Regions from separate parts of the Homo sapiens genome. Here all the other regions are linked to region 3. The links are contacts of gene promoters, found by promoter capture Hi-C in blood cells and fetal thymus (Javierre and others, 2016). All regions are on one chromosome and are shown on one strand. The core of a region is centred on a gene start or on the middle of the fragment in contact, and the rest is flanking DNA. Distances in the headings are between cores, read along the strand shown. Region 1 overlaps CMTM4 (CKLF like MARVEL transmembrane domain containing 4). Region 2 overlaps CMTM4 (CKLF like MARVEL transmembrane domain containing 4). Region 3 holds the start of CA7 (carbonic anhydrase 7). Region 4 has its middle 3.1 kb from the start of CMTM4. Region 5 holds the start of CMTM3 (CKLF like MARVEL transmembrane domain containing 3). Region 6 overlaps CMTM4 (CKLF like MARVEL transmembrane domain containing 4).

Region 1 (4,149 bases), core at 1,004-3,503, 220 kb before region 3:
GGAACCATACAGGTGAAGAGCCCAGCATGGTGCCTGGCCCACAGCTACAGTGGCCTACATATTTACTGTCACTTCTGTTATTACTACTTTGGCATGAGGCACCCAGTAGCCTGGGTCATACCAGAGTACCTCTAAAACCTCTATAGGAAAAAAATTCAGGAAAAAGCCCAAACTGCCTGAGTGCCAGGCTGATTACACTATCCACACCTGATGGATCCTCTGGTCTGGCCTAGCTCCAAGGTCGATTTCCTCTTTTTGAAGATGTAAAGATGGCTGGTGCGGTGGCTCATGCCTGTAATCCCAGCACTTTGGGAGGCTGAGGCGGATGGATCACTTGAGGTCAGGTGTTCGAGAACAGCCTGGTCAACATGGTGAAACCCCATCTCTACTAAAAATACAAAAATTAGCTGGGCATGGTGGCGCATGCCTGTAATCCCAGCTACTTGGGCAGCTGAAGTACGAGAATCACTTGAACCCGGGAGGCAGAGGTTGCAGTGAGCTAAGATCGTGCCACTGCACTCTAGCCTGGGTGACAGAGCGAGACTCTTGTCTCAATAAAATAATAAAATAAGATGTAAAGAGACAATGCTGGCATCATAACAGTGCTGAGTCTTGCAGCAGACACCCAACCTGCTCCTGGCTCATGGAAAGCTCTGCTCAGACGCATCTGCCAGCAGGATGGGTTTCAGCTATGACCTGCGTAAGCCAGGGCAAATTTTTCACAAATTCAAACCAGGAAGCGTTTAGTTACACTCAGCTCTGGGTAAGATGCTGTAGGGGTAAAAAAAGAATATAAAATATACTTCCCAAAGCAAAGACTATTCAGAAACGAGGGGAAAATACAATACACTGTGAGGTCAAACATCAAATAAAACAGTATCAACATTAACAGTGACTACATAAAAACAGAGATGCAGCAAAGGGCTAGAAAACAAACAGGCCGGGCACGGTGGCTCATGCCTGTAATCCCAGCACTTTGGGAGGCCGAGGCGGGCGGATCACCTGAGGTTGGGAGTTCGAGACCAGCCTGACCAACATGGAAAAACCCCGTCTCTACTAAAAATACAAAATTAGCCGGGTGTGGTGGCACATGCCTGTAATCCCAGCTACTCGGGAGGCTGAGGCAGGAGAATCGCTGGAACCCGGGAGGCGGAGGTTGCAGTGAGCCAAGACTGCGCCGCTGCACTCCAGCCTAGGCAACAAGAGCGAAACTCTGTCTCAAAAAAAAAAAAAAAGAAAAAGAAAAAAGAAAACAGTCAAAAATTTTAAAGTTGTAGGAGTATCAGTAGTTTTAAATTTGCTTTAGTAATGATCATTAACAGTAGTGAGTGAAGAATGAGATGATGAATGGGAACAGCAAATACAGGGAAAAAATATGTCAAAAAGCCTATTTTAAAAAGATAAAAAATAATCTTTCAACATGATCTGAGGCTAAGAAACCAGATTAAACCAGGGGAAAAAAACGCCAGCAACTGCTAACAAGAGCATAACATATCTGCCTCCTCAAATCCCACTGAATCATATTTAAATACTGAAGCACTTGCTTAAAAGATGAATCTAAATATAATTGAGCTTCTAGGACTGTGCTGTCCAATAGGGCAAACACTAGCCATATGTGACTGAAGTTAAACTAATTCATATAAGATAAAAAATTTCACTCTTCAATCACACTAGCCACAATTCGAGTGCTCAGTGGCCACATGTGACAAGTGGCTGCCTCAAGGGCACAGCAGATCAGAAAACATTTCAATTGTCAGAGCAGCTGCTATAGCACCACACTGCCCTGAGATCAATGACTAGGTCACAGAGAAAATGGGGAAAGAAGGACATATGAAACACTACCATGAGGGTGCATGCAGCCAACTCAACTGCAAGACCCTCTACAGGATAAATGACCCAGTTTTTCTAACAAGTCAACAGAATAAAAAGAAAAAGGGAGGCCAGGCACAGCAGCTCATGCCTATAATCCCAGCACTTTGGGAGGCCGAGGTGGGCGGATCACCTGAGGTCAGGAGATGGAGACCAGCCTGGCAAATATGGTGAAACCCCGTCTCTACTAAAAATACAAAAATTAGCTGGACCCCGTCTCTACTAAAAAATTAGCTGTGGCCAGGCGTGGTGGCTCACATCTGTAATCCCAGCACTTTGGGAGGCCAAGGTGAGTGGACAGCCTGAGCTCAGGAGCTCAAGACCACCCCTAGGCAATATGGCGAAACCCCATCTCTACTAAAACACAAAAAATTAGCCAGGCACGGTGGCATGCACCATGTAGTCCCAGTTACTCGGCAGGCTGAGGCAAGAGAATCGCTAGAGGCCAGGGGGCGGAGATTGCAATGAGCCAAGATCTCGCCACTGCACTCCAGCCTGGGCGACAGAGTGAGACTCCCTCTCAAAAAAAAAACAAAGTTAGCTGGGCATAGTAGCACATGCCTGTAGTCCCAGCTACTCGGGAGGCTGAGGCAGAAGAACTGCGTGAATCCAGGAGGCAGAGGTTGCTGTGAGCCCAGATTGCGCCACTGCACTCCAGCCTGAGAGACAGAATGAGACTCCGTCTCAAAGAAAAAAAAAAAGAAAAAAAAGGAAAAAAAAGAAAATCATATTGGGGGCCAGGCATGGTGGCTCCTGCCTGTAATCCCAACACTTGGGAGGCTGAGGTGGGTGGATTGTTTGAGCTCAGGAGTTCGAGACCAGCCTGGGCAACACAGCAAAACCCTGTCTCTACAAAAAAATTCAAAAAAATTAGCCAGGCATGGTAGTGCGTTCCTGTAGTCCCAGCTACTTGGAAGGCTGAGGTAGGAAGATTGTTTGAGCCCAGGAGGTCGAGGCTGCAGTGAGCGGAGACTGCGCCTCTGCACTGCAGCCTGGGGGACAGCGTGAGACTCTGTCTCAAAAAAATAAATAAATAAATGATATAAGGCAAAAAGGTCTAAGTATAAGGAAGCAAACAAAGTGCTCAATAGGGGAGTTGTTCAATAAAATGGTATTTCCATAATGGAACACTATGCAGTCATTAAAAATAATCACGTAGTTATATATTTAACATGTAAGGTACAATAATTTAAATGAAAAAGCATGATTTTAATGGTTCCATTTTTCTGCACTCACATATCACAACACACATGCATACGCAAAAGACTGTCTAGAGAGAACAGTTTAGAAGGATTTATACTCAAGTATTTTAAGTGGTTACCCTTCATTGGGTCATATCACGTATTTTTAAACAGCTTTATTGAGATATAATTCACATACCATAACATATACCCAATTAAAGTATATAATTCAATCACAATGTAATTTTAGAACATTTTTAGCACTCCAAAAAAAGCCTCATACGCATTAGCAGTTATTTCTCATTCCTCCCCCAACCCTAAGCAACCACCAATCTGCTTTCTGTCTCTATGGATTTGCCTATTCTGGACATTTTTTTTTTCCTGTGTGTGAAATCTGCCACAAATATTCTGGACATTTCATACAAATAGAATGACATAACATGTGCTTTGTGCCTGGCCTCTTCTGAAGGCGTGGCCTGCCCCTCCACACCAGTGGGATATCTCGTCAGGTGGGACGAGAGACTGAGAAAAGAAGTAAGACACAGAGACAAAGCATAGAGAAACAACAGTGGGCCCAGGAGACCGGCACTCAGCATACCAAGGACCTGCCCCGGCACCGGTCTCTGAGTTCTCTGTTTTTATTGATTATTATTTTCATTATCTCAGCAAGAGGAATGCGGTAGGAGAACAGGATGATAATAGGGAGAAGGTCAGCAAAAAAAACATGTGAGCAAAGGAATCTATGTCATAATTAAGTTCAAGGGGAGGTACTATGTCTGGATGTGCACGTAGGCCAGATTTATGTTTCTCTCTGCCCAAACATCTCAGTGGAGTAAAGAATAACAAGGCAACATTGCTGCCAACATGTCTCGCCTCCCGCCATAGGGCGGTTTTTCTCCTATCTCAGAATTGAACAAATGTACAATCAGGTTTTATACCGAGACATTCCGTTCCCAGGGGCAGGCAGGAGACAGTGGCCTTTCTCTATCTCAACTGCAAGAGGCCTTCCTCTTTTACTAATCCTCCTCAGCACAGACCCTTTACGGGTGTCGGGCTGGGGGACGGTCAGGTCTTTTTCATCCCATGAGGCTGTATTTCA
Region 2 (4,110 bases), core at 1,127-3,626, 170 kb before region 3:
CTCCTGGGTATTAACCCCAGTGAGATAAAAACCTACATTCACAGAAAAAAATGGTATGAATATTTACAGTAACTCCATTCATAATCACCAAAAGTTGCAAATAACTCAAATGCCCTTTAACAGGTGAATAAAGAAACTGTGGGACATGCCTACAATGGAAAACTACTCAGCAATGAAAAGGAATGACTATTCATAAAATACAACATGAATGAATATCAAATGCATTACACTGAATGAAAGACAGTCTTAAAAGTACATACTTATGATTCCATTTCTGTGACATTCTGGAAATGACAAAACTATACTGATGAGAAACAGATGAGGTTGCCAAGAATTGGATGTAACTACAAAGAAAGGGAACGAGGAAGTTTTGTGGGTTGATGAAACTGTTGTTCAGTATCCTCATTATGGTAGTGGCTACACGAATATATGTGCATGCTAAAACTCATAGTACTGTACACCAAAAAAAGTCAATTTACTACATGTTAATTAAAAAAAAAAAAAAAAAGAGCATGTGAAGACCACCAACATCCTTGGCATGTGCCCAAACCTCTATAGCTCAAACATTTGCTGGATTTTTTTTTTGAGACAGTCTCACTCTGTCACCCAGGCTGGAGTGCAGTGGAGCAATCTCAGTTCACTGCAAGCTCTGCCTCCCAGGTTCACGCCATTCTCCTGCCTCAGCCTCCCAAGTAGCTGGGACTACAGACACTCGCTACCATGCCTGGCTAATTTTTTTTTGTATTTTTAGTAGAGATGGGGTTTCACTGTGTTAGCCAGGATGGTCTCGATCTCCTGACCTTGTGATCCACCCACCTCGGCCTCCCAAAGTGCTGGGATTACAGGCGTGAGCCACTGTGCCCAGCCATTTGCTGGATTTTTTAATGCTCTCAGAAAGAAAATGGTGCACACTCCTTTATTAGATTTGTTTAATTCAAACCTATATGACGAATTCTAAATCAGCCTTAACTATTTGTTTTAGATTCAAAGTAGAGAATAAAGCCTTCAATTTTGCCACTTAATCATGAAACAAAAATAATGTAAAGAAGGAAACAAAGCAATTTTCAAAATGGCAGCCAAAACAAAAGCAAGAGAGAGTCTACTACATGGAGCCAACCAGAGAGAGGCTAAAGCATAACAAAGCATCATGTTCAGATCTTAGTTGTGTATTTAAAATTTGTGCACTTCGGCCGGGCACGATGGCTCACGCCTGTAATCCCAGCACTCTGGGATGCCAAGGCGGGCAGATCACCTGAGGTTAAGAGTTTGGGACCAGCCTGGCCAACATGGTGAAACCCCGTCTCTACCAAAAAAAAAAAATACAAAAATTAGCCAGGCTTGGTGGCATGCACCTGTAATCCCAGCTACCCAGGAGGCTGAGGCAGAAGAATCACTGGAACCTGGGAGGCAGAGGCTGCAGCGAGCCAAGATCCAACCTGGGCGACAGAGCAAGACTCTGTCTCAAAAAAAAAAAAAAAAAAAATCGTGCACTTCTCTATACGTATATTGCACTTCCATAAAAAGTTCTTAAAAGTAATAATGTAGCCAGGCACGATGGCTCACGCCTGTAATCCCAGCACTTTGGGAGGCCGAGGTAGGCGGATCACGAGGTCAAGAGACTGAGACCATCCTGGCCAACATGGTGAAACCCCGTCTTTACTAAAAATACAAAAATTAGCTGGGCGTGGTGGCACGAACCTGTAGTCCCAGCTATTCAGGAGGCTGAGGCAGGAAAATCGCCTGAACCCAGGAGGTGGAGGTTGCAGTGAGCCAAGATCGGGCCACTGCGCTCCAGCCTGGCAACAGAGCAAGACTCCATATAAAAAAAAAAAAAGTAATAATGTAAATCTGTAATTTCAAAAACCACTCTGCATCATACCCTGAAGCAAACTGTGGTATGTGTAATAACCCATTTTTACAAGTATGCGCATGGGAACAAAGTCCAAAACAATGTAGACCTAACTGTTAATGGGAGTCCTCTCTAGCTGAGGAGAACACCAGTATTTTTACTTTTTTCTCTATTTTTCTACATCAGTCTGACTTTTTAAAACAAGGGACACAAATTTTTTTGTAATCAGAGAGTAAGTTTTTGCCATTTTGGAAAATATTCAAGATAAAAAAACTGATATTTATATTACAGACAAATTTATGTATGACTTGACTGTAAGCTCCTTGACGTAAAGCAGCTTTGTAAGCCTCATACAGTACCAGATTCCCAAAAGACACTTCACCAGATGTGCGGCTGGAGAATGAAGAATAGAAACAGGGAAGCCTTCTCAAAGAGAAGGGCTAACTTCGGGAGTCTCCAAATAGAGGGGAAGGAATCAGGCAAGCGGCACGGGTGGCTGGATGGAAGGAGACCTGTAAGTGATGGTGAAGAGGCCGAAGGCCTCCTGAGATGGAAACAAAGACGGGAGTGGGCCCAGGGGAGACAGAAAATTTGGAAGAGGTGTGAAGGAAAGGGTAGCACTCAGCAAAGACTTGTGATGGAGAGAACAACAATGGTTTCATAGGAAAACATCAGCGGGCTCACTGATCCCTTCTAGAACTAACCATTCCATTCTCATCCCTTATCTTCTCCTCCTCTCCCCTGAACCTCCAAGGAAAGTGACTCCAGACTGTTGCTTACACAGCTTGTCATGCTCAGAATCCTTAGCACACAAGAGGAGTGGGCACCTGACCCAGGGGCACCAACCCACAGGCTGGCCAGGCACCTATAACTTGGCCTAGCTGGGAAAACTCTACCCAAATAGACCATCAGATGCCCTCTGGCATTCAGTGAAATTAGCAACATGATGAGAGGACAGACAGACCAGTAATGAATATTTCAAATATATAATCTCCAGCCTGGGTAACACAGGGAGACCCGGTCTCTACAAAAAAATATTTAAAAAAAAAAATTAGCCAGGAGTGGTGTGGTGGCACACACCTGTGGTCCCAGCTACTCAGGAGACTTACAGAGGATCACTTGGACCCGGCAGGTCGAGGATGTGGTGAGCCATGATCATGACTGCACTCCAGCCTGGGCAACACAGTTAGACCGTGTCTCAAAATACACACACACACACGTATATATAATCTATCAGGATATATTTATAACACATATGTTGGTGCAAAAGTAATTGTAGTTTTTGTCATTAAAAGTAATGACCAGGCCGGGCACAGTGCCTCATGCCTGAAATCCCAGCACTTTGGGAGGCCGAGGCAGGTGGATAACTTGAGACCAGCCTGGCCAACATGGTGAAACACTGTCTCTACTAAAAATACAAAAAAAAAAAATTAGCTGGGTGTGGCAGTGTGCGCCTGTAATCCCAGCTTCTCAGTAGGCTGAAGCAGGAGAATCACTTGAACCCAGGAGACGGAGGTTGCAATAAGCCGAGATTGAGCCACTGCACTCCAGCCTGGGAGACAGATGGGAGGAGACACAGCAAGACTACGTCTCAAAAAAAAAAAAAAAACCTAATGACCAGAACCGTAATTACTTTTGCAACAACTTATATATATATAATATGTATATATTATTATATATAGGCTGATAATATAACCTATGTAATATATAAGTTAGTAACATATCTCAGAAAATGTAATACCTGCAACTCCACTAAACAATCTTTTATTATTCCTCTGATTCTTAAGGGTCACTTTTGAGTTACACTTTTGTTTTTTTTGAGATGGAGTCTCTGATTGCAGTGGTGCGATCTCGGCTCACTACAACCTCAGCCTCCCCGGTTCAAGCGATTCTCCTGCCTCAGCCTCCCAAGAAGCTGGGATTACAGGCACGTGCCACCACACCCAGCTAGTTTTTTGTTTTGTTTTTTTTTTGTATTTTTAGTAGAGACGGAGTTTCATATGTCGGCCAGGCTAGTCTTGAACTCCTGACCTCAAGTGATCCTCCCACCTCAGCCTCCCAAAGTGCTGGGATCATAGGTGTAAGCCACTGCGCCTGGCTTTTTTTTTTTTTTTTGAGACGGAGTCTTGCTCCCATCACAGTGGTGCAATCTCGGCTCACCACAACCTCAGCCTCCCAGGTTCAAGTGATTCTCCTGCCCCCGCCTCCCAAGAAGCTGGGATTACAGGCACGCGCCACCACACCAATTTTTTTTTTTTTTT
Region 3 (3,814 bases), core at 33-2,532:
TCAGGAGAGGAGGGACAAACAGCAGGCTATGGAGGGACAAAGCAGAGTCCCTGAAGAAAGGAGGAAGCAGTAGACAAAATAACAGGGAGGGTGGAAGTCAGAGCCTCAGACTTAGCTCCATGGGGAAGCCACCTGGTGTCTGCCTGTCTTCAGGCCCATTGGTTGATGCCACTCCTTCTCACTCCCCCTTGGGGGATCTGGTTCCACCTGGGCCAAGGGTTCACATTGCCATTCCTGTCCCTGCATCTACCCCAGGGTTCCCGGACCCCCACACTCACAGCACACCCTTGTACCCAGCACCAAGGAGAAATGGTAAAGACCCCAGTGTCAGGCCAGGAGTGGTGGCTCACTCCTCTAATCCCAACACTTTGGGAGGCCAAGGCGGGTGGATTACTTGAGGCCAGAAGTTCAAGACCAGCCCAGGCAACATGGTGAAACCCCCATCTCTACAAAAAACACAAAAATTAGCTGGATGTGGTGGCACACACCTGTAATCCCAGCTACTTGGAAGGCTGAAGCAGAAGAATCACTTGAATCAAGGAGGTGGAGGTTGCAGTGAGCTGATATAGCACCAGCCTGGGTGACAGAGCAAGACTCTGTCTAAAAACAAACAAGCAAACAAACAAACAAACAAACAAATCCCACAAAACCCCCAGTGTCTGGAGTAAGAACCCCAGCTAATGAACCCTTTACCCCCTGGCTAGATGACCTTGGGCAAGTCACTTCACTTCTCTGGGCCTCACTCCCCTCCTCTGTCAGATAGGGCTGATGGAAGCACCCAACCTTGTAGGGTAACAGAGAGGGTTATACCATAGGAAGGACCCAAAGCTTGGTCCAGCGCCTGCAACAGCCTCTGGCAAACAGTGGAAGCTCCAGTTTTGGACACTTGATGGTCAGTGTAGTTTGCAGTTTAAAGGGGACTTTCCAACCCCAAAAGATTCAGGACCCAGAGCTCAGGTCTCTGGTGGTGGCATTTGCAGGTCTGGGGCAAGCCTAGGGAAGGGACGCCATGTGCGGCACGGGCATCTAGTGTCCCAGAGTCCGCACGGGTTGCTGGGGGAAAAAGAGGGATAGTCGCCCAGCCAGGGCAGGGGTGGGAGTTGGGGGGAGAGGGTTACTTCCTCCTGCCCTGAATCTCCGCTCGGGGTTCAACTGGCTCGCCGGCGGGCGAGGGCGGGGCAGGCCGGCCTCTCTGGCCCTGCTGGGGGGTGGGGGGCGGGTCCCCCGGGAACTGCTCCTCCCGCCAGCCGCTGCTTTAAGAGGCTGCTCCGCGGTAGCGAGCGGGGCCGGAGCCGCAGCCCGAACGAGCGGACCGAGCCGACCGGGCAGGTGCACGGCTGCGGGGACGGCAGCGGCATGACCGGCCACCACGGCTGGGGCTACGGCCAGGACGACGGTAGGCACAGACCTCCCCCACCGCCTCTGGCTCGGACCCCCGACCCAACTGCACTCGCCCCAACCCTCTTGCCCAGCTGGTTTCCCAGACCGGAAAGCTCCCACACTCCAGGCTGGGCGGGACCCCTCTTCCCATCCCGGCCCCCGAACTTGGCCCAAGCCTTGGTCCCCCGCGCCAGACGCAAAGTCCGCGCTGCGCCCCGGGTGGCCCCGCCGCCAGCAAGCGACCTGGCGGCTGTGTCCTGCCGCCTCCTCCGCGAAGCCCCTGATTGCCCAGCCCGCTCAGACCCAGGCCCAGACTCTCACTCACTCGCCCCGGGCGTGCGCAGCGCGTGGGGGTGGCCCAGGGCAGCGGGGGGCGGGCGCCGCGGAGCGCTGTGCGCGGGTGTCTGCGGGGAGCGCGCACGGCAAGTGAGCGGGGACCTCGGGGGAGCGGGGCTCCGCGTGGCAAGGGCGCAGTGTCCCCCGGAGAGAATTTCCCCGCAGAAGTGGCCGAGCTGCCTTCTCGGCCGGTACGTGAGGGAAGGGGGCACTTGGGGGCGCAAGCATGTGTCTGGGTGTCTACACCGAGCAGGGTGTTTGCGCACGTCCGGGTGTGAGTCGTGGGAGCCCGTGGCCCACACCAGCCTCCTGGGCTGACGCGGAAGAGAGCTCCTTCATCCTGCCTCAGTTTCCTTAGGACTCAGAGAAAGGGAGAAGAGGCAGAAGGTGAGAGCCAGACGGCTGGAGTGTGGGTCTGGGGCAGTCAATTCCCTTTGGGGCCATTTCTTACCAAGCAGGGGTGGGGGTGTGGGGTAAGGGGTTCCCTATTTCCCTGGGGAGCCAGTGCAAGACAGGTGGGGTGCGGAGAAGAAAAAGTAATGATGGGAGGAACATCCCCCAGCCCCACTCCTCTGCGGAGAGGCAGTCACTTTGTGAGGTTGGGTGGGGGACCACAGTCTGGGAAGCCAGAAAGTTGCAGTAGACCAGAGGGAGGGTGCTGTGGAGTCTTTGGCTCCCTCTGGGGCCCCAAGAACAAAGGAGCATATTTTGGAAGAGAACCCCCAGATCTGGGTATGCAAGAGCTGGAAAGAGACATTCAGAAAAAGATGATATAGACAAGCAGAGAGGGAGAGACAGGCAGACATGGGGCAGATGGACAGGACCCATAGGGATCATCTTCTCCCAGCACCTGCTCTGAGCCACCTTTTGGGTGCTTCCCCCAGAGCCAGAGTCCCCTGCCTCCAGCTCTTCTTGCTAGTCATGCCCACCAGCTCTGAGCACCCAGTGTCCTGTGTAGCCTGCTCCATGGGCCTGCTCCCCCAAAGCAGCCACCCCATCACCCAGGCAGAGCTGGATTGTCCAGTCGAGGAAGGGAAGGACAGAGGACAGAGGTGCCGGCATGCAGCAGTGTTCACAGGGCTTCAAAAATAACCCAGAGGGGCCGGGCCACGATTCTGAGTCATCCATTGGGGACACGGCTCTGTCGGCACCTGCTGCTGTTTTCTCAGGAAAACTTAAGAAGCCAAAAAGGGGGAGAAGCACCAGCCGGCAGTAGCTCTAAAAATAGGCTGCATCTCAGGATGTTCCCCAGGGAGATGCTGAGCCTCTCGGCTGCAGATGGATCCTCTGGGAGGCAGGTGGTGGGCGCCTGTGGGTGTGTATGCAGGTGTGTGTGTGTGTGTGTGTGTGTGTGTGCATGGGCATGTGTTTTGCTGTGGTCCTTTATGCAAACTTGGGTCTCCAACAGAGGGGTTTGTGTGTGAGAGAGCATATGCGTGTGTCAGATGTAGTCTGCAGGGCTGTGTGTGTGTTTGTACACATGAATGTTCTGGGCCTGGCTGCTCTGTGTGCACAATGGAAGATCATAGAAAGATTAATGTGTTCATAGGAAGATCTCTATGGACTTGCAGGCACACACATTGGGAGGGCAGCTGGGGGCAGTGCATGCACATGCTGTATTTATATTAGTACATATGCATGCACACATGTGTGAGTGGCCCTCAGTTCCCTCATCTGTGAAATGGGGATCTTGCTGGTTTCTATTTCACAAGGTGGTTGTGAGAGGCAAATACATGTCACAGAGTCAAAGCTAGGTTGATGTGAGTTTTTGTTGTTATTTATCACAAACACCAACACCAAATTGCCCAAGGCACAGAAAGAGGTGAGATACTGATGGGGTCAGGTCAGAGACTTCAGATGTCTGGAGGTCTCCCTGTTGGGGAGACTTATTACTCTGAGCCACCCCGAGCCTGTAGCTGTTATGTTCCCTTCCATACAGTACCTCTCTGGGCCTCCTATCAGCACTGGAAGGTGAGTTTTAGTGAGACCATTTCACAGACAAAGAAATGGAGGCTGAAAGGGGAAATGGCAAAGCTGGGATTGGAACTCCAAGCTGTGCAGCTCCAATGCAGGGGCTCACCTCTGAAAGGATGCTGAA
Region 4 (4,353 bases), core at 858-3,357, 140 kb before region 3:
ATTTCTATTTTACAGAAGAAGAGACTAAGGCTGCAGACTGGAAGTAGCTTGTCCAAGGTCACACAGTTCATTGGTGGGCAGAGCCCAGGTTCCTACTTTTTCTTTTTTTAAAAAAAAGTTATTTATTATTTTCATCATCATTATTTTTGTAGAGATAGGGCCTCACTGTGTTGCCCAGGCTGATCTCGAACTCCCGGGCTCAGGGGATCCTCCTGCCTCAGCCTCCCAAATTGCTGGGATTACAGGTGTGACTGACCATGCCCAGCCCTCAACTTTTTCAAAGATAGGAAGGACAGTGACTCTAATACTGTTGTCCTTCTGTATGGGGGCAAGAGAGGGAGCTTGTTTTCAGGACCCCCTCAAATACCAAAATCTGAAGATGCTCTCAAATCCTTTATATAAAATGGTGTAGTATTTACATATAACCTACACACATCTTCTCGTATACTTTAAATAATTGTTCTACTGTATTACTTTTTATCTATATTTTTGTGTGTGCGTGTGTGTGTTGTTTGGGGGTTTTTTGTGTGTGTGTTTTCTGAGACAGAGTCTTGCTCATCACCCAGGCTGGAGCGCTGTGGTGAGATCTCTGCTTACAGCAACCTCCACCTCAAGCGATTCTCCCACCTCAGCCTCCCGAGCAGCTGGGACCACCACGCCCAGCTAATTTTGGCATTTTTAGTAGAGACAGGGTTTCACCATGTTGGCCAGGCAGATCTCAAACTACTGGCCTCAAGTGATCTACCCACCTCAGCCTCCCAAAGGGCTGGGATTACAGATGTGAGCCACCGTGCCCCACCTGTTTTTCTGTTTTGTTTTGTTTTGTTTGTTTTTAAAATAGACTTTTCACTCTGTCATCCAGGCTGGAGTACAGTGGTACAATCATAGCTCACTGTAACCTCGACCCCCTAGACTTAAGCAATCCTCCTGTCTCAGCCTTCTAAGTAACTGGGACTACAGGCATGCCACCACCATGCCTGGCTAAATTGTTTTTTCTTTCTTTTTTTTTGGAGATGGGGTCTCATTATGTTGCCCAGGCTGGTCTCAAACTTCTGGTCTCAGCAGTCCTCCCACTTCAGCCTCCCAAAGTGCTGGGATTACAGGCATGAGCCACCACATCCAGCTTATTTTTTATTGTTTTTTCCAAATAATTTTTTTTTTTGAGACGGAGTCTCATTCTGTCACCCAGTGGCATGATTGCTGCGCACTACAACCTCCACCTCCCAGGTTCAAGCAATTATTCATGCTTCAGCCTCCTGTGTAGCTGGGATTACAGGTACCGACTAACACGCCTGGCTAATTTTTGTGATTTTAGTAGAGACGGGGTTTTGCCATGTTGGCCAGGCTGGTCTTGAATTCCTGACCTCGAGTGATCTGCCCACCTTGGCCTCCCAAAGTGCTGTGATTACAGGCATAAGCCACTGTGCCCAGCCTATTTTATTCCAAATTTTTTTTTATCAGCAGTTGGTTGAATCCATAGCTGCAGAAACCACAGATATAGAGGACTGACCCTAAATCAACAAATATTTATTGGGCACTTACTATGGATTAAGCAATATACTAAGAACTTGAGATAGACAATGGTGCTAGACGGTGGTGACATTGAGTGGTTGGATGTAGACTCTTGCCTCTGCTTTCTCCCAAAATCCCAGTGAAATGACAGTTACAGGGATTTTTTTGAGGGGGTGGGGTTGGGCATTAAACTGTTGGGATAAAGAATGGCAAAGGAGGCAGGGCACCATGGTGCATGCCTGTAATCCTAGCACTTTGGGAGGCTGAGGTGGCAGTTCACTTGAGGTCAAGAGTTCAAAACCAGCCTGGCCAACATGTTGAAACCTTGTCTCTACTAAAAATAAAAAAAAAAAAAAAAAAAAAAAAATTAGCCATACATGGTGGCGAGCGCCTGTAATCCCAGCTACTCGGGAGGCTGAGGCAGGAGAATCACTTGAACCTGGGAGGTGGAGGTTGCAGTGAGCTGAGATCACCCCACTGTACTCCAGCCTGGGCTACCAAAAAAAAAAAAAATGGAATGGGAAAGGAGACAATGGCAACAAAATGTTGGAAGCTGGGAAGCAAATGGGCAACTGTAACTTAGCAGATCCAAGAAAGCCAAACCCTAAACTGGCAGGGGAAAGGCTGAAATATTATGCAGCACAGGTTATATCACAGAACAAAAGGCTCAGGAATGGGCAGCACCAAGTAAGTGTAGAGTTAGGGGGTGAAGGCAGGAGTAATAAACAAGAAGAGCAAGTGAAAGTCTTTTAAAGAAGCAAGTGGATCCCTAGATCCCTTTTCACACCCATCCCCCAAGACTGGAGCTTTGTTCTCTGGAGAGGGTGAAACAGAAGGCCTCTTAGTTAGAGATCACTAGGCACAGTTCAGGGAAGGAATACTGTACTAAAAACAGGTGGAGTAAGTGAAAGTTTGCTTAATGAATGAGACCCCCAGACATCCTTCCCGAGATCATGGTAGCCAAGACCTCACATTCTCTCTGGAAAACATGATTAGCACAAGAAGAAAGACCCAAAGATCCTGACAATGGAAGTACCCCAAAGTGGAGCCCAGCCAGATCACCCAACACAGAATCCCACAGTTGAGACTTCTCACCTACAGGCACAGAGCTTCCAATGAGCTTTTGAGGACTCTACTTTGAAATATAAATGACAACTAAGAGTCACCAAACATTTGAGGAAAGCCTATAACATAACAGAGGTCAAAACGAAGAAAAAGATATGTCATTAAATGTTTACAATGGTATATATATGTGTGTTCATATATATACCATTTTATACACATGTATATATCAGTATTCTCAGGTAAACTGAGAAGATACTGTAACCATAAAAAGTTTAGAATAAGGCTGGGCATGGTGGCACATGCCTGTAATCCCAGCACTTTGGGAAGCCGAGGTGGGTGGATCATTTACAGTCAGGAGTTCGAGACCAGCCTGGCCAACATGGTGAAACTCCATCTGTACTAAAAAAACAAAAATTAGCCCAGAGTGGTGGTGCATGTCTGTAGTCCCAGCTACTCAGGAGGCTGAGGCAGGAGAATCGCTTAAGCCCGGGAGGCAGAGGTGGCAGTGAGCCAAGATTGTGCCACTGCACTCCAGCCTGAGTGACAGAGCAAGACTCTGTCTCAAAAAAAAAAAAAAAAAAGTTTAGAATAAGGCTGAGTGAGGTGGCTCACGCCTGTAATCCCAGCGTTTTGGGAGGCTGAGGTGGGCAGATGGCTTGAGCCCAGGAGTTCGAGACCAGCCTGAGCAACATAGCAAGACCCCATCTCTATTAAAAAAAAAAAAAAAAAAAAAGTTTAGAATAAGATGTTACCAAAAAGGAATATTCAGAGAAAAAAAAAAACCTCTTAGACAAGCACATGAAAATATGCTCAATGTTATTAGTTGAAGGAAATTAGGGAAATGCAAATCAAAACCACTTCATAACTGCCAGGATAGCTATAATAAGAACAACAGGAAATTACAAGTGTTGGTGAGGATGTGGAGAAACTGGAACCCTCATACATTGATGGTAAGAATGTAAATGGTGTAACTGCTGGGTTGAAAGTTTGGCAGTTCTTCAAACAGTTACATAGAATTACTATATGACCCAGTAATTCCACTCCTGCGTATATACCCAAAAGAACTGATAATGGGTGGCCAGGCACAGTGGCTCATGCCTGTTATCCCAGCACTTTGGGCGGCCAAGGCAGGTAGATTGCTTAAGTCCAGGAATTCAAGACCAGCCTGGGCAATATGGCAAGACCCCATCTCTACAAAAAATACAAAAAACTAGCTGGGTGTGGTGACACATGCCTGTAGTTCCAGCTGCTTGGGAGGCTCAGGTGGGAGGATTGCTTGAACCTGGGAGAGGAAGGTTGCAGTGAGCTGAGATTGTACCACCGCACTCCAACCTGGGTGACAGAGTGATACCCTTTCTCAAAAACAGAAAAAAGAAAAAAAGAAAATAAAAGAAAGAAAAAAATTGATAATAGGTGCTGAAACAAAAACTTGTATGAGACATGCCAGACTCCATGATACAGGCCTGTAGTCCTAGCTACTCAGAAGCCTGAGGCAGGAAGAACACTTGAGCCCAGGAATTCAAGGCTGTAGTTTGCTATGATTGCACCTATGAGTAACTACAAACTCCAGCCTGGTAACACAGCAAGACACCATCTAAACAAACAAACAAACGAAACCTTATTTTTATGCCCTTATATAAAAAGAAACACAAAAAAACCTTCTTCATGAAGGTTTGTAGCAGCACTGTCCACAGTAGCCAAAAAGTAAGCACAAGCCAAGTGTCCTCCATTACCCCATGAAACAGGAGTTCGAGACCAGCCTGGCCAACATGGTGA
Region 5 (4,328 bases), core at 1,816-4,315, 240 kb before region 3:
CCCCTTCCACCCAGGAATCTGTCCGCCTCCTGCTGCCATTCATGAAGCCCAGGCTTGCCCCAACTTTGCTCCCAGATCAGAGCACGTGTCCACAGCAGGAAGAAGCCAGGCAGCAGGAGAAGGCACTTCCGAGCCTGGGAGGGCAGGTGGGGGCCTTCCTGGGCCCCTAAGAGTACAGGGATGCCTGAGCCTGCAGCTGTGGTTTGGGCAGCTGTAGCTGTGGGAAAGGGGGTCCCAGGGCTCCTGTCTGCCCCATGGAGGAGGCCCCATTCTGCAGCTGCAGTTTGGGTAGCTGCAGCTGCACCTGGGAGAGCAGGACTCCTGCCTGCTCCATGGAGTGTGCAGCCCAGGCCATGCCTCCCTGCTGCAGCTGGGTGATGATAGCAGCAGGTTGTCTGGAGCCACGGCTGCCATCAAAAGTGATCAATGACTGGTGATTGTCATGAGTGGTACAAGGTCAAGAGATAATCAGGTCTGGCCAGGTGCGGTGGCTCACGCCTGTAATCCCAAACCTTTGGGAGGCCGAGGCGGGAAGATTGTTGGAGGCCAGGAGTTCAAGACCAGCCTGGCCAACATGGCAAAACCCTGTCTCTACTAAAAATACAAAAATTAGCTGGGTGTGGTGGCACAGGCCTGTAATCCCAGCTACTTGGGAGACTGAGGCATGAGAATCCCTTGAATCTGGGAGGTGGAGGTTGCAGTGAGCCAAGATCATGCCACTGCACTCCAGCCTGGGTGACAGAGCAAGCCTCTGTCTCAAGAAAGAAAAAAGAGATAACTAGGTCCACACGTGTTTGTGTCTTTCCACAGTGTCAGATTTTTATTCACCCTATACCCAAGGGTAAAAAAAAACAAAAGCCACAAGCTATCCCAAGGAGCCAATTTGCTTCTTCTTCTTCTTCTTCTTTTTTCTTTCATACAGAGTCTCACTCTGCCGCCCAGGCTGGAGTGCAGCTGGAGTGCAGTGGTGCGATCTCAGCTCACTGCAACCTCTGCCTTCTGGGTTCAAGTGATTCTCATGCCTCACCCTCCCAAGTAGCTGGGGTTACAGGCCTGTGCCACCACGCCCAGCTAATTTTTGTATTTTTAGTGGAGATGGGTTTTCGCCATGTTGGCCAAGCTGGTCTCGAACTCCTGACCTCAGGTGATCTGCCTGCCTCAGCCTCCCAAAATGCTGGAATTATAGGCATGGGCCACTGCACCCAGACCCAAGGAGCCAATTTTCCTTAGTACTTCCCGTTCACTCAGTAGTGAGCACATGGGCTCAAGCCACTCCACAAGTCAGTCAATATTGCAAACCATATATAATAGTATACTTAATCCACATGTAAATGTTATAAACATTCCACAACAAACAAAGTAGCATTTAACATCAAGAGAAAAAGAGATAGGAGAAAGGGTTAAGGAACCAGTTCCAGGGTAAGGAAGAAGACAAAAGGAATCCTGGTCTGGGCTTGAGGGTCTTGCAGAGTCTTTGAGGGGCAGAGCCTTGGGAGGCAGATGCAGAGTTCTTATGAACGGCAGTGGGATGGTTGTCAGTTAAGGCTGCTGGGCTGCTGTTTTGTAGTCACAGAGTGCTCTGGTGAGAAATGGTAGAGGAACAGTGTGCTTCTTTGTGTCCTTATGTGGTTGGACGCAGTCTTTATTTATTTTTTTTTTTATTTTTTGAGACAGAGTCTTGCTCTGTCGCCCAGGCTGGGGTGCAGTGGTGTGATTTTGGCTCACTGCAACCTATGCCTCCCGGGTTCAAGCGATTCTTGTGCCTCAGCCTCCTGAGTAGCTGAGATTATAGGCACGGTGCCACCACGCCCAGCTAATTTTTGTATTTTTAGTAGACACGGGGTTTCACTATATTGGCCAGGCTGGTCTCGAACTCCTGACCTCGTGATCCACCCACCTCAGCCTCCCAACGTGCTGGGATTACAGGCATGAGCCACAGCGCCTGACCTTCTATTTTTTATTAAACAAAACATCTTGCCCTTGTTGGCAAAGCACCCTATGAAATATAAAATGAAGTCTTTTTCTAAGATGGAGTTAGTTATGTCAAGGGTGCGCAGTACTGTGCCATAAGCTCTCCCCCGGCTGCCCAGAGAGAAAACCTAAGGGCCTCTTAAAGACACCATCACAGCAGTTCAGCGGGGAGCAGGCAGGAATGGTTTCGGATCTAGTGGTGGTGAGAAGTAGACAGAGATCAGAGAAAGTTATAGGAGGTGAAAGTGGGAGGACCTTGGTTACAGACTGCCGGTGAAGAGGGACAAGGACAACCCGCAGGTCTCCGCTAGTCAGGTGGAAGGAAAGGAGGGGGCAGTGCCCTTCGCAGAGGCACAGGAAGCTGGGTCTTGATCACGCTGAACTCCAGACGCTCTCTAGATGTGCACGCATGTGCGTGTGGAGTGTGTGTGTGTGTGTGTGTGAGAGAGAGAGATGTGTTGGGGTGGGGGGACTGCAGGTCAGGAAGTCCTGCAGATGTGCGTGCCTGTGTGTGTTTGCGCGCGCGCGCGCGTGTGTGTGTGTCTGTGTGTGTGCCTGGAGCTGCGCTTGCAGGTCTGAGAGTCCTCTGAGAATGGGTTGGGGGAGGCGGGTGCAGGACCGAGGCCTGGAACAGCCAACAAAGAGGCCCTGGAGGAGGGTGGGGCTGGCCGGGGACAGGAGGGGTGGCCAAGAAAGTCGCAAGAAAACTCCGGCCCCCAAGAAAAAGAGAGGGCATGGGTTGCGGAGCCGACATCACGGCCGGGGTCTTTGCTGTTTAGACGCCTGGGTTCCCGGATCCCAGACACGCGCACGGGCAGGAAGTTAGACCGGAGACAGCGAGTATAGACAGCCCTTCTGGATAGGGGCAGACGGGTGGGAGCTCCGAAGGGGTGCCGGGGCGGTGATCGGGAGGTCTCCAGCGGCCCGAACCAGGGTGAAGAAGAAGGTGGAGTCTGCGGAGGCCCCAGGCCGGGGAGGGGGCGGGTCGGGCCCAGCATCCCCCGCAGCCGGGGTCCGAGGGGGAGGGGCGGGCTGGAGGAGCGGGTGGGGGCGGGGCGGGGCGTGGCGGCGGGGGATGCGCCCCTGCGCGAGCCAGTGTCGCCTGCCCTCCTTCCGCACAGCCCGGGTTTCCGCTTCCCTCCGGGCGCGAGAAGAGGGGAGCCAGGCCGAGCCCCGGCCCTACCGCCGCCGCCGCCATGTGGCCCCCAGACCCCGACCCCGACCCGGACCCCGAGCCTGCCGGCGGCTCCCGTCCCGGCCCCGCGGTCCCCGGGCTCCGCGCCCTGCTGCCGGCGCGGGCTTTCCTCTGCTCTCTCAAAGGCCGCCTCCTGCTGGCCGAGTCGGTGAGTGCGGCGGGACCCTCGGCCGCCCCGCTAGGACTGCGCGGCTCCTTTCGGAGGAGGACGTCGGGGCGCGGGTGGGGTCCGGGGGCGGCCGCCGTGCTCCGATACCCCCTCTCCGCGCCGCCTCGGCCGACTTCTCTCGGGCGCCTGGCGAAGTTGGGTCGAGGTCCCCAAACTTTGGACGGCGGGGCGGGGCCCGAGCCCAGGCCATCCGCGGCGCTGTCCCCGCGAGTCCAGAGCTGGGGGCCGTGGGAAGTGGGTGGGGCCCGGGGATGTGGGTCCTGCTGTGTGAGCCAGGCGCCCCCGCCCTCTCTGGGCCCCGGGGACTCGGGCAACTCGGACCTCCGGGACTCCCGGGCCGCAGCGGGGTCCGCTTTCCTGCGAGCGGGTAGTGCGGGCCGGGGCCTCGACCTGCGGGGCCGAGCCGGCGGGGGGCCGTGCGGAGCGGGAGGGATCCCCCACCCCCGGGACTGGGTGAGGCGGCCCCGCGGTGACTTCATCGCCCTCCTCCCCTCCGCGGCCGGGCTCCTTCCTACTCCGCCCTCGCCCCCACCCCGGCCGGTGGGGCTTCTTTGTCCTCTGGACACCGGAGGCGCCCGCACTGTCCGCTGTGGGGTAGGGGTGGCGCTGGGCCGTTGGGGATGGGGAGGGAGAGGCCGGGCCGGAGACCGGGGGAGGCGGGAGGAGAGAGCGGCGCACGGCGGCGGCCACTTGTTGCTTAGATCCCAGGAACTTGGCGCTTCCTGCCCTTGTCCCCACTTTACAGATGAGAGCGCTCAGGCGCCTGATTTGACAGGTGGCTCAACTGAGGGGCCCAGTGAGAGCGGCCAGGAGGGTGGGGGCAGGAGGAAGGGGGATTCTGCTCCGGGACCTCTCCCTGGTCACTCAGGGCAGAGGGCAGAAGGTGGTCCTGCAGCCTCTCCCACGGTCAGCCCAGAGGCCACCTGCCCAACGCCCAAGTGAGACACCAATGCCACACTCCGAGCCCACACTCCCAGCCCCACCCTGGAGACC
Region 6 (4,207 bases), core at 882-3,381, 190 kb before region 3:
TTCCCCCCGCACACCTCTTAACACTTTGCACAGCCATGTCTGGAGGTAAACTAGTTTGGGAAACACAAAAGGCATGTGCTGGTCAATACTCAGCTTTGTCACGTCATGCACAATTTACAGAGTAAAAACATGGAAGCTCATTTACCCAGCAGGGGAGCAACTATTAAGGACCCTGTTAACCTAGTGAAGACCTACGAAGCTGAGTGGTGACCACACGCGCACACACAGCAGGGTTCAAAGTGTCTTCAGAATCAGACGAAGCTCTAATCAACTCCAGCACATTCGAAATTCAAATGTCTCTATTCCTGCCAATACTGAAAAAATATCTGAAAGACGAGACAGGGCTTGTATTTAACCACAGACGAAAAAGGCTAGTTGTTAACGGCTGCTGGAAGACCTCAGAATGTGCAGAACAGAGAATCCAGAGGGGGCAGCAGAGAGCAAAGCAGGGACTGTGCTTCCGAAGCCAGCTCCTCTCTTAGCAACCAACAGGGGATGTTAAGATGGGCTCCTGGAGCCGGAACTACAGAAGAGGCACGAAGCCTCTCCGCACCATCTTTCACGGTGTTGAGATGGGGAGTTTTAAGCCACTCTTTATACACACGCTAAACAACAGATCACCTTAAAACATAAGTTCCCAGGCCAGAAGCCATTTATATGGTCTGCAAACGGGGGCAAATAGTTCTGCAATGCCAGGCACCTCCGAATAACAACGGCTTCCATTTAGGGAGCATCAATAAGGTAAGGAAGCTACAGGGCTCTGCACCAGGCACAGTCCAAACATCTCTGATCCTCACACCCCGACTCAGGAAGCAGGCAGCACCTCCATCGTGTGGCCAGGTCCCAAAGCTAGTTCCTCCCCTACCTCATTCTCCTAGATAAGATGCCTAACATATGACTTATCCAGAGTCTTCCCACCCCTTTCACCATGGGAAAAATCACCATGTATGATTTCTCTTCAAGGAAAGCAATACAAGACCTGGGGTAGCCAGTGCTGAGACTCTGACAAAGCCCACAACATGACTGCTCATTCTCAAAGGGATCTAGCTGTAGTAATATCTTAATTTTTCTAAGAAAAATAATCCATGAGTTTTTTCCCCTCCCAAGGGAGGCCATCCCATGAGGATGATAAACTTAAAATATCACCCTCCTCTCCCTTAAGACAATCGAGCAATGAGCAAATAATGTTTGGTTCTGAAACAAAGGAGCTAATTGCAAGTGTAAATTATTCAATCTGCAACCAAGGTGTTTGCATGTGATCTTTGGTTTCATTGCTTTTCTCTAGCAGTGCCCAAGCTAGGACCTGAGGGTAGCAAAGAAGTAATAGAAAATTACCTGCTCTGGAAGGGCAGAGATGGCCCTCAGGAGCTAAAGCCACCTGGGCTGGCCAGCAGGACTAATTAGTCAACAGTGATTAGTTGAGCAAAGGAGCCAAGAGGTGGAGGCAAGTAAGTTCCTCATTGTTGACAAGAAAAGGAGAAATGGGGTCAAAGGGAGAGGCTTCCAAGGACTCAGGATGGTGAAAGAAAACAAAGCGCAGGCAAGGCTGGGGTGCAGCAGACGGCAGCAAGGTGTGCACTCTCAAAGAAAGCCCGCCAGCCTCCGAGGCCACACTCCACTCTAAGTGGTGCTTACCGCAGACCCCTGAAGGCACCGTTTTCCACTGAGGACAGAAGCATTGGGTTGTTGATGCCCCAGAAAGCTTGGTTGGGTCTGGGTGTGGCCTGTGTCACTAAGGCCTATTCAATCAGTGTCCCTGACAGATGTTTCAAGCGGGTTCTCTGTGTAAACAATTTTGATATTTTGGAATTCTAAAGCCATAAATAAGAGTTGAACTTTGGACATTGCATTCAATTCAATTTTTTGGCAAGATTCTCACCTTCAACGTAAATTTTCATACTTAGAAGCATGCTCTAACGCATACATTAAATCCACAGGTTACCCATCAACAACGGCTGGATACTGTATCACAGGCTCCAATTAAAATAGGTTTATTTTTTGGTATCTAACTACTTAGAGCACACAAACAGGGTTATCCAATAAAGTGCGAAACATTTTCTTATTTTTAAAAGAAAATCCAGAAATCCTTATTATGTGGTTTGATGATATAACTGCACATGATTTCAGAAAACCACAGGACGGTCAGCATCTTTCTTGCCAAGAGATTGCCCACAGAATCTTATTGCGAATGCTACCCTGCTCAAAAAGTCAAATTTTCAGACCGTTTAAATTAGTAATGGAGCAAAAACAAAGCACATGTAGAGGACAGAGGAAACAAGCTGCCCTTAAAGCATAAACATCTGAAGCTGTTTAACTACACTGCTGCCATTAGGATCTTCTTTTCCCCTTTACTTTCTCATGGTCCTAGCTTCATAGATGAAGCTGAAATCCCAGAAAGCAGTGTCGCATCCCCAGAATACAAAAGCAAAACCTCCCCCTTTCCTTCCTCTTCCTGCTTTACTTCCTGGGTACTTCCCCAACCTAACAACTCTGGCCAACCACCTTAACTGAGAGTAAGGACACAGCATTTCTCATTGAATGAGAAACGAGCAGGCTGGGAGAAGCTTTTTGCTAAAGATTGATTTCAGCCAAAATAGTGAACTGCATATCATACATAAGAGGCCAGATGGAAGTCCATTGGGAAAACCCAGCTCAGTCGTGAGACCCACTACCCTGGCAACCCCCCAGGACCTCTACACCATCCAGAGAGAGAGGTCTTGGAACCAGTCTCTGGGAGAGGGAGATGCAGTGAGCTAAGGGTTAGCAGTACAGGCCCAAACCTATGACCCCCAGGGCCGCCATCCTTACCCCATAGGTCAGGGACTACTGTTCAGCATGGTGGTTATAATGGTGTCCCCAGCTCCAGAGACAGTGAGAACAGTGGAACCTAGAATGTGTGACACTGTGGCCTTCCTTAAAAAGTCTATATTTGCTGAGCCCTTCTACTATGAGTCAAATACAATGCTGGGCACTTCTATAAGCATTCTAGCCTTTAATTTAAAATTCATTCCATCCTGATAGAAACATGGTTGGTTGGGTTTTGTTTGTTTGTTTTTAAGACAGAGTCTTGCTCTGTTGCCCAGGCTGCAGTGTAGTGAGCAATCTCGGCTCACTGCAACCTCTGCCTACCGGGTTCAAGCAATTCTCCCTGCCTCAGCCACCCGAGTAGCTGGGATTAGAAGCGTGTGCCATCATGCCTGGCTAATTTTTATGTGTTTTTTTTTAGTAGAGACAGGGTTTTGCTATGTTGGCCAGGCCGGTCTCAAACTCCTGGCCTCAAGTGATCCACCTGCCTCGGCCTCTGAAAGTGCTGGGATTAAAGGTGTGAGCCACTGCACCCAGCCAGTTTTTAATTAAGATATAATTCACACACCATAAAATTCACTCTCTAAAATACACAATTCAGTGACTTTTAGTATATTCAAAGTTGTGCAACCATCACTATTACACAATTACAAAACATTTTCATCACCCCAGGAAGAACATGGTTTTTAATCCCCATCCTATTGACAAGCAAAGTGAAGCAAAGTTGTTAAGCAAACCAGCCAAGATAAGTCTTGTTAACAGCAGAGTTGGGGTTCAAATCTGGACCCCAGAACCCTCTACAGCACTAGGCACTAGTGATCACCCTCCACCTGCACTGGACTTCCACTGCTCCCCCTTGCCATCCTGCCTCCTGTCACATGGCAGGTGCTCTCCAGGGCCTCGCCTCTGCTGCCTTCTCATGAAACACATGCTTACCAACAGACTCCCTCCTCCAGACTCACACTCCCAAATTCACCCTTCTAGTCTGAATGTCTTTCTAAGCCCCAGACCCAGGCCATAACTGTTCCCCCACAAACTGGGCACCTCTACGTAATATCACCAGGCACCCACAAATGTGAGTGCAAAAATCCTCTTGCCGTTAGCATAGCCCGTCGCACAGTAGTTAAGGAGTGGGGCTCTGGAGGCTCACGGCCCTGGCCCGTGATCCCAGCTCTGCCACTGTGACCCTGGGCACATTTACTTCTCTTCTCTGAGCCTCTCTTTATAAATTGTAAAATGGGTTTTCTTTTATTTATTCAACTGTAAAATGAATTAAGGGGCAATTCTGATGCTAAAGGATTGCTGTGAGGATTAAATGTAAAATACTTTGCACCATGCCCAAGAGTGAGTATTCAGCTAAATGGCAGCCACTGTCCTTACTATGTGAAAGGGCCAACAGAGC

The links. Contacts are between HindIII fragments. The CHiCAGO score rates a contact against its expected background, and 5 or more counts as called.
Region 1: a contact is called between a fragment that was not itself captured here and the fragment with the promoter of CA7 in region 3, in 1 of 17 cell types (endothelial precursors). The highest score is 8.4, in endothelial precursors.
Region 2: a contact is called between a fragment that was not itself captured here and the fragment with the promoter of CA7 in region 3, in 3 of 17 cell types (endothelial precursors, erythroblasts and M1 macrophages). The highest score is 6.6, in endothelial precursors.
Region 4: a contact is called between a fragment that was not itself captured here and the fragment with the promoter of CA7 in region 3, in 3 of 17 cell types (erythroblasts, endothelial precursors and M1 macrophages). The highest score is 5.6, in erythroblasts.
Region 5: the fragment with the promoter of CMTM3 here is called in contact with the fragment with the promoter of CA7 in region 3 in 17 of 17 cell types (erythroblasts, naive CD8 T cells, M0 macrophages and 14 more); the score reaches 19.8 in erythroblasts.
Region 6: a contact is called between a fragment that was not itself captured here and the fragment with the promoter of CA7 in region 3, in 6 of 17 cell types (endothelial precursors, erythroblasts, M1 macrophages and 3 more). The highest score is 10.7, in endothelial precursors.

Annotation. Positions count from the first base shown.
Region 1 is chr16:66,624,215-66,628,363 of GRCh38, forward strand. The region is part of intron 2 of CMTM4 (CKLF like MARVEL transmembrane domain containing 4); the gene reads right to left. Among named protein-coding and RNA genes, the nearest start is that of CMTM3, 22 kb to the left of the region's middle. The HindIII fragment of the contact is 4,903 bases long and covers 1-4,149 here.
Region 2 is chr16:66,668,977-66,673,086 of GRCh38, forward strand. All of the region lies in intron 1 of CMTM4 (CKLF like MARVEL transmembrane domain containing 4), which reads right to left. Among named protein-coding and RNA genes, the nearest start is that of CMTM4, 26 kb to the right of the region's middle. The HindIII fragment of the contact is 5,328 bases long and covers 1-4,110 here.
Region 3 is chr16:66,843,132-66,846,945 of GRCh38, forward strand. It overlaps CA7 (carbonic anhydrase 7), which reads left to right and starts at 1,283. Exons shown (of 7, transcript NM_005182.3): 1 at 1,283-1,396. The coding sequence starts at 1,357. The region is part of intron 3 of LOC124903699 (a long non-coding RNA gene); the gene reads right to left. RefSeq lists an enhancer at 1,211-1,712. The HindIII fragment of the contact is 7,096 bases long and covers 827-3,814 here.
Region 4 is chr16:66,697,619-66,701,971 of GRCh38, forward strand. No RefSeq gene overlaps it. Among named protein-coding and RNA genes, the nearest start is that of CMTM4, 3.1 kb to the left of the region's middle. The HindIII fragment of the contact is 4,672 bases long and covers 1-4,353 here.
Region 5 is chr16:66,601,639-66,605,966 of GRCh38, forward strand. It overlaps CMTM3 (CKLF like MARVEL transmembrane domain containing 3), which reads left to right and starts at 3,066. Exons shown (of 5, transcript NM_181553.4): 1 at 3,066-3,314. The coding sequence starts at 3,168. It also overlaps a transcript of CMTM4 not described here. RefSeq lists silencers at 2,951-3,790, 3,851-4,070. The HindIII fragment of the contact is 16,414 bases long and covers 1-4,328 here.
Region 6 is chr16:66,650,697-66,654,903 of GRCh38, forward strand. The region is part of intron 1 of CMTM4 (CKLF like MARVEL transmembrane domain containing 4); the gene reads right to left. Among named protein-coding and RNA genes, the nearest start is that of CMTM4, 44 kb to the right of the region's middle. RefSeq lists an enhancer at 290-584. The HindIII fragment of the contact is 862 bases long and covers 1,701-2,562 here.